Linked DNA regions of Homo sapiens: all the other regions are linked to region 2. The links are contacts of gene promoters, found by promoter capture Hi-C in blood cells and fetal thymus (Javierre and others, 2016). All regions are on one chromosome and are shown on one strand. The core of a region is centred on a gene start or on the middle of the fragment in contact, and the rest is flanking DNA. Distances in the headings are between cores, read along the strand shown.

Region 1 (2,700 bases), core at 99-2,598, 300 kb after region 2:
TAAATGACATACAGATTAGAAAGGAAGAAGTAAAACTATCTTAGTTGCTAGATGACATGATTGTCTATGTAGAAAATCTTAAGGAATCTACCAAAAAAAGCTACTGGAATAAGTGAGCTTAGCAAGTATGATACAAACTCAATATATAAAAATCATTTACATTTCTATACACTAGCAGTGAGCATTTGGAAATTGAAATTAAGAAAAAGAAATTTACAGTACTTAGGGGTAAACAACAAAATATTTGTAAGGCCTATACAAATAGTTCTATAGTTGAAAACTATAGAACATTGCTGCATAAAATTAAAGACCTATAAAATAGAAAGAAGTAATATGTTCATGAATCAGAAGACTTAAGTTAAATGTTAAAATGTCAGTTTTTCCCAAATTGACCTCTAGATTCAACAGTCTCAACCAATACCTAGCAGGCTTTTTTGTAGAAATTTGCATACTGTTTCTAACATTTATATAGAACTGTAGAAAACACAGAATAACCAAACGATTTTGAGAAGAAAATTGAAGGACTACTGATGTCAAGAATAATTATAAAACTCAAGTAATGAAGACAGTGTAATACTGGCATATGGATAGAAATAGAGATCAGTGGAACAGAATAGAAGGTCCAGTAGATCCACATGTATATGGCCAACTGATTTGCCAAAGGTGCCAAAGGATTTCAATGGGAAAAAAAAAGTCATTCAAAAAATGCAGCTGAAACAATAGGGAAAAAAAATAAAAAACCTTGACTATTATTTCACACCATGTACAAAGATTTGTTTGATGGGTCATAGACCTAAACTTAGAGAAAAAAGCTTGGAAAAAAATCTTTGTGTCCTTGGGTTAGGCAAGGATTTCTTAAATAGGACACAAAAAGCACCATAAAATAATGGATAAATTTAATTTCATAAAAATCAAAAGCTTCTCTCAAGTGAATGAAAAGAAAACCACAGATGGGGAGAAAATATTTATGAAACATATCTGATAAAACATTTGTGTTCAGAATGTCTAAAGAACTCATTCAAGTTAATAATAAGACAATCTGATTTAAAGGAATGGGCAGCAAAAAAATTGGAGATACGTCACCAAAGATGATATGTAAATGTCCAGCAGGCATATGAAAAGATGCTCAAAAACCGTTAGTGATCAGGAAAATTTAAATGAAATATCACTACACAGTCACTAGAATAAGCAAAATTTAAAAGGCTATGACAAAACCAAGTGTTGGCAAGAAGGTAAAGCGACTAGAGTTCTCATACATTGCTTAGTGGTGTTGCAAAATGGTATACACACTTTGGAAATTATTTTGGCAGTTTCTTTTTGGGGGGGTGAGGGGGAGGCAAGGTCTTGCTCTGTCACCCAGGCTGGAGTGCAGTGGCACAATCACAGCCCACTCTAGCAGCCTGACCTCCCAAGCTCAAGCAATCCTCCCGCATCAGCCTCCTGAGTAGCTGGGACTACAGGCGTGCATCACCATGCCCAGCTATTTTTTGTAGAGATGGGGTTTCGCCATGTTGCCTAGGCTGGTCTTGAACCCCTGGGCTCAAGCAATCTGCGTGTCTTGGCCTCCCAAAGTGTTGAGATGACAGGCGTGAGCCACCGCACCAGGCTGGCAGTTTCTTATAAAATTAAATGTGCATGTACCTTGTGACCCAGCAGTTCTGTCCCTAGAAATGAAAGCATACGTCCACACAAAGACTTGTATGTGAATGTTTCTAGCAGCTTTATTCACCTCAAACTGGAAACAACCTAAATATACATCAGCTGGTGACTAGGTAACATAAGCTTTAGCATATCCATATGATGGAATGCTACTTTGCAGTAAAAAGAAACGTGCTTCTGATACATGCATCTCCTGTGAATCTCAAAAGCATTATACTACATGAAAGAAGACATAAAAGACTGCATACAGTATGATTCAATGCACATGGCATTTTAGAAAAGACAAAACTAAGGTACATAAAACATATTAGTGGTTGCCAGGGACGGGGGGCTAATGGTGGGGATTAACTGCAAAGGGAACAAGGGAACTTTTGGGAGTGATGAGAATGTTCTGTATCTACTACTATCTGTAGTAACTGCTACTGCAATTAGTAGCAGTTGTATGACTGTAGTTGCTGAAACATATACTTTGCCCTTTTAAATGGTGAATTTGTGAATATGCTGAATGCAAGAGTGAGGTTGGGATTTTGAAAAAAGCCTATACCAGAGACTTCTTCCTGGCCTCCGTTCTCTGCATATGGTGGCAGGGCCGTTGTGGCTTCATCCTGACTCCTGCTCACTGAATTCTACTCTGCCATTTCTAGATCTGGCCCAGTCCAGCCTGAGGTTTCTGGAGCTGGGGTAACTTATCTGTAACCACCCCATCTAAAGGTACCCAAGCGATTTTTAGTCCTTTATTATTTGAGAATGGGGCTACTTCAGGCCCGGAGATGAAGTAACAATGTGATAGTTAAGACTCACCTGTAACTGTCAACCAGTTTCGCTGTGAGAAATGTACAGCTACATAGGGGTCTGCTATGGTTGGTGCTCGTTTTGGCTCCTCCAAAATGGTCAGGTTGAAAATTACGCAGTGTCAGCATGACATAGAAATGAACTTTGTTATTGTCATTGAAACAGGATAAGAGAGGAACTTAACTCCAGTTGTCGCCTGTGTAATGCTTATTCTGTAGTTTTCTGGGACAGTTAGTTCCTTTGGAGGAA
Region 2 (2,700 bases), core at 113-2,612:
TTTGGATAAAGGAATGAGCCAACCAGTCCATCTTGGTGGATGATGAGGGGCTTTCTGCCTTCAGTCAGATGAACTTGAGCCAGCCTGAGAGAATGATCTTACCCAGATCTTCCTCCAAACCGTGTGATCCAGCCCTTCCCCAGCAGCAGGCTGCCCTTCCCTCGAGAGCCCCAAGGCCAGGTGTTGAGAGAAAAGCATGTCTAGGGCCTGGGAGAACCAGAATGAGCTGTAGGCCCCGTGGCCCGGGGCTTTCCTGTGTATGCTAAAAAGTGAGCTCTAAACCAGTCTCCTGGTTTCCACTTCCCCAGGCTTGGTGCTCCTGAGTTTCCTGGTATAGCTCTTCTCCTCCCCGTTGCAGCTGGATCCTGGAAGCCCTCAACAGTGTCTGAATTGCAAGGTGATGGCCAAATACACTAAACCAAAGATATTCCTAAACTTTGCCAAACCCTGCGTCTCTCAACTTCCTTCTCTCCATTCTATTTCCTTCCAATGCCCAGCAAAATGGTTGGTACCTTAATGCCAAGACTTTCATTCTAACCCTTAGACACTCCATAGGTCCCCACAGAACACTGTGCTATTAAGCACTTGATGTGGATTCAACCATATACTCATGAATGTCTGATTTTGTTCTGGGAGGTTTCCCTCCCAGAGGGAAATGCTCAGAGTCCCAGAATTTTCAATGACCAGGGTCCCAGAAGTGGCAAGGAGCTTTGGCCTTTGGAAAAGACCCATCTAGTTTGTTGTTTGTTTTTAGGGTTTGAATCTTCTCTTGCTCTGTGAATGATACGGGATAAGTTGCATTGTCTCTTCTGCCTCAGTTTCCTGTCTCTTTCTCTGGTTTTAACACAAACGTTAATATACTAGATAATGAACATATCTAGATCCACACATCCTGGATTTTCTAGGACAACTCCGATTTCAAATACTTTGTCCACATTGTCAAATCCTGTGTCTGATCCTATAATCTAATTTGGGATAAGAAAATATGGTCTTGAGAGTACTTTGAATTCTTCATTTCAGCAGTGGGCTAGAATGTTATTTACTAATATGTAAATAAAAACCATTCTGATTCTGGGCACTGGTCCGGAATGTGTAATTCTGGCCCAGCAGGAACGCAGCTGTGTTGCTGGAGGCCCTTCCTGGGAAGGCTCTGACAGAGCCTCTCCTTCAGCCCTAGGTCCCCATGTCTCACCCACCCCTGGGCACTGGAGAGAAAAGGGGCCTACTCACCTGCACAGAGTGTCCACAACACAGGCCACATCTTCCCCACCATGGTCTTGCTTCTTCTCTGCCCTAAACCTAACCTGTCACTGGCAGCCTCCAGACAGGTCTGAGCTGTCTGGTTAAAGCTACAGCAGCTTCTGGCCTGGCCCAACTGGAGGTCCCTGCAATTTTCCCTCTTCTCACCCACCTCTGCCCAGCCTCAGCTGGATTGGCAGGTGAGCTCCTCAGCTGGATTGGCAGGTGAGCTGGGGCTGGGCTCATGTGTCACCTACTCCAAAGGTCCCAAGAGGAGTCTTCCCTACTTCCCTCAAGTTCCCCTTAAACCAGCCACCTCCCCTGCCTTCTCCCTACTTAACAAGTGTACAAAGTCCTAGACTGCTCACAAAGGGGTAGGCCTCTCTTATAACTGACAGGAAATAAATAATAAAAAGGGAAATGCACTCAGAGGTAGGGTTCCAAGCTAGTAAAAGAAGGGTGTTGCCCATATTTGCTGAAACACTTCAAGACACAATGTGATCTGTTTCTCTACTTCTCTCCTCTTCTACAGCCTCCACCCCACAGTGCGCAAGAGATATAGTCATGAAGAAAACAGGAAGTCTCCCCCTTCAGAGTTTATATTCTGACTGGGAAAGTAGCAAGTTCATAAGTGAAAGAAGATCATCTTGGGGACATGTGACCAACTTGTCTCACTTTTCCTAGGACTGTCCTGGTTTTCAAACCAAAAGGAACCCCCTCAGTCCCAAGCAAATTTGGATGATGGTCACCCTACTGAAAGAATGATCAGTGGTGTGGGACCATAATTCTCCAGGAGCAGTGGCTGTTGCTGGTTTCTTCCATAGATATTTTAGATATATATACACTGTTCTGCAATGATTTATTCATTTTTCATTTAATGAAAGGTTTTAGAAAGCTTTCTGTATCGGTATGTATAGCACCACCACCATCATCTTTTTAAAATGGGGATGATATTTCACTGTATATGAGTGACATGATTTATTTAACCAAACTACTTTTAAGATTGTTTTTCCTCATCTTTCACAACTATGAAAAGATTGCAACCAATATCTATTATGTGTACGATATTTCACACGTGTTGTGATTATACATGTAAGATAAATTCTTAAAAGTAAAATTTCTGACTCACTGAAAGTTATGCATATTTGTAATTTTTATAGATATTGCTAAACTAGCTACCATGAGAATTTTACAGCCTACACTCCTATTAGCAGCATATAAGGATACCTATCTCCCCACACACTCACTAACACAGTTACCAAGTGTTTATGACACAGTTATCAAACTTTCTGCTCATCGCCAATCTAAGTGAACATGATATCCCATGTATATATAATTTACTTTTTAAAATTATTAGTGAAATTTGGCCAGGCGCGGTGGCTCACGCCTGTAATCACAGCACTTTGAGAGGCCAAGGTGGGCTGATCACGAGGTCAAGAGATCGAGGCCATCCTGGCTAAC
Region 3 (2,700 bases), core at 119-2,618, 280 kb after region 2:
AGAACAGTGTTCATCTGAAAGCCCTTCACCTAGAATCACCAGTTGTTACTATTTTACCATATTTGCTTTATACCATATGTGTATATGTATGTATGTACACATACAAAATACATTTTGCTTTTACCATATGTGTATATGTATGTATGTACACGTACAAATTTTTTTTTTTTGAAATGAGGTCTTATTATGTTGCCCAGGTTGATCTGCAACTCCTGAGCTCAAGGGATCTTCTTGCCTTGCATCTAACTGTGATTATAGGCGTACACCATGGCACCGAGCCAAAAAAAATTGTTTTTTGCTAACCCCTTTGAAAGTTGCAGACATTATAACCATTTACTTCTAAATACTTCAGCATGTTTTTCCTAAAAACAGCATTCTCTTATAAAACTGCAGTGCAAATTTCAAATTCCAGAAATTTAACATTGATACGATATCATTTTCCAATATTGGCCCATATTTATATACTTCCTGCCCACAATCCAGTCCATACTTTGCGTTTAGCTGTCATGTCTGTTAAGTCTTCTTCAATCCAGAACAATTCCTCAGCATGTCTTTGTCTTTCATGATATTGGCATTTTTGAAGAATAGAGGCCAGCTGTTTGATAGAATGCCCATTTAACTTGAATATGATTGTTCCCTCAACGGCTGAACCCAAGTTATGCATTTTTGAAAGGAATACAGCAGAAATGATGCTGAGTCCCTCTCGGTGCATTCAGAAGCCGTATCATATTGCTTTGTCCCATTATTGTGATATTAAGTTTGATTATTTTATTAAGGTAGTGTTTATTAGATTTGTCCACTGTAAATATGTCTTTTTGCCTCCTGGTAAGTAATACTCTGTGAGGCAGTACTTTAAAGACTGTGTAAATATCCCATTCCTCAACAGACTTTTACCCTGAAACGTAATAAGTAAAAATCACATAAAATTTTTATCTTCTTCAAATCTTTGTACCTGAAGTTCTTTCCTTGGGCTCTTTGACTTCTTAGCCTTTAGGCCTTAAACATATTATCTGTTCAGATAGGCCTCTCCTGATTACACTGTATTTTAAATGTGTTCTACATATGTCTTCAGATTTTGGTTTTTTGTTTTTGTGTTTGAGGGTTCTCATCTACTAACAGGACTAGCAGTTTCAAATAAAGGACATAGTAGTCAATTCATTTTAGCTCTTAACTCTTCACTGAGCTCCATACCAACATTTATATTTAATCTCAGGACATCTTGATGCTATCTGGTGTATACAAAATGGAACTCATTATCTTCTCTGTCCCTGTTAGTGGTACTACCATTTTCCAGTTGCCCAGATTTGAACCCTGGAATAATGCATGACTCTCTTTTTTTAATCTAAATCCAGTCAGGATCCTTATGTAGTGCATTGCAGAGACTTTCATGTTTCCTACTTTTTATTCCCACTGCCACCATTCTAGTTTAGTTTTCCATTTATTCTAGCCTAGTTTATAGTCTCTTTCTCCCTCCTCAGTCTTTCTTTGTTTCAGGACATTGACTGTTTTGAACAGTGTACACTGGTTATTTTGTAGTGTTTCTCAGTTTGGGTTTGTCTGATTTTCATCATGATTAGATTCAGATTCTACACTTTTGTTAGGGATGCAGCATAAGCAATGCTGTATTCCTCTCAGTGCATCTTAGCAGAAGGCCTGTGTCTCCTTCCTGGTGACTCTTGTTTGTGCTCACTTGATTATTTGTCTGCCAGGTTTCTCCACTGAAAAGATACTATTTTACCCTTTGTGAGTATCAAGTATCATTGGAGACATAGCTGAGAATATGTAAATATCCTGTTACTCCTCAGATTTCTCACCCATTAGTTATCCATTGATGACTCTGCCTAAATCATAGTTATTATCATAGTTGCCAAATGATGGTCTTAATTCCATGTGTATCCTTATTTTCACATAACCATGATTTGAACTTTCTGAATGTATGAAATGTATTAAATGTTTTGACAGACTTTTATGTGTGGTTTATAGGGTAGATTTTCTATTTCAGCTAAGAGTTTTAAGTTATGATTATAAATGTTTTAAGGACTTGGCTGTGTGGGTGTGTAAATATATTTCTACTCTGGTGTATACATGGAACATTCAAAATTAAAATAAGTAGATGGTTCTGATTGTTTCTAATAATAAAGAATGTATATAGATAGCTTATATGTTCTTTAACACAATGTGGAAGGTTAATTAAATTTTTAGAATCTTAAGCATTCTGTGAATACAAACAATGTTATGTAAGGAGCATTCAATACAAGTGTGGCATGGCTGATAATGTTCATTTAGTGTGGGAAAACATCTTCAAAAAAAGATTAACAGCATTTTTCTGTGGGACCCGTTGGGGTGGGGTAGGGTGGGTTGAGAAGGGACTGAGCTTGTTCATAAAGTTTTAACTCCGTAAGACAAACTTCTTTGTCTTCTCAGTTCTAGCTCGGTGACACATAGTAGACTTTATTTAGTGATGACAACCCCTTGTGATGAATGTCAACAGTATTAAACTAGAACTTCCCCTGATTACTTATAGGTCCAACTCGCTGGAACAAGTTTACAGGCTGCTGCTCAGTCTTTAAATGTACAGGTAAGCTGGGACCTGGGATTATGGGTCAATCTTTTATTTATTTTTTCTTATATTTTTCTGTAGTGAGCATATATTTTATAATAGGAAATGCTTAGAAGTATTACCTTTTCAAAATTAGTGAA

Evidence for each region. Contacts are between HindIII fragments. The CHiCAGO score rates a contact against its expected background, and 5 or more counts as called.
Region 1: a fragment that was not itself captured here is called in contact with the fragment with the promoter of GPA33 in region 2 in 5 of 17 cell types (total B cells, naive B cells, naive CD8 T cells and 2 more); the score reaches 7.6 in total B cells.
Region 3: a contact is called between a fragment that was not itself captured here and the fragment with the promoter of GPA33 in region 2, in 2 of 17 cell types (neutrophils and total B cells). The highest score is 6.1, in neutrophils.

Annotation. Positions count from the first base shown.
Region 1 is chr1:167,384,878-167,387,577 of GRCh38, forward strand. All of the region lies in intron 8 of POU2F1 (POU class 2 homeobox 1), which reads left to right. Among named protein-coding and RNA genes, the nearest start is that of CD247, 130 kb to the right of the region's middle. The HindIII fragment of the contact is 864 bases long and covers 917-1,780 here.
Region 2 is chr1:167,089,015-167,091,714 of GRCh38, forward strand. It overlaps GPA33 (glycoprotein A33), which reads right to left and starts at 1,363. Exons shown (of 7, transcript NM_005814.3): 1 at 1,231-1,363. The coding sequence starts at 1,273. It overlaps LOC124904451 (a long non-coding RNA gene), which reads left to right. Exons shown (of 3, transcript XR_007066717.1): 2 at 309-397; 3 at 1,772-2,367. RefSeq lists an enhancer at 1,389-1,538. The HindIII fragment of the contact is 4,295 bases long and covers 1-2,132 here.
Region 3 is chr1:167,367,637-167,370,336 of GRCh38, forward strand. It overlaps POU2F1 (POU class 2 homeobox 1), which reads left to right. Exons shown (of 16, transcript NM_002697.4): 4 at 2,525-2,578. Among named protein-coding and RNA genes, the nearest start is that of POU2F1, 150 kb to the left of the region's middle. The HindIII fragment of the contact is 7,500 bases long and covers 1-2,700 here.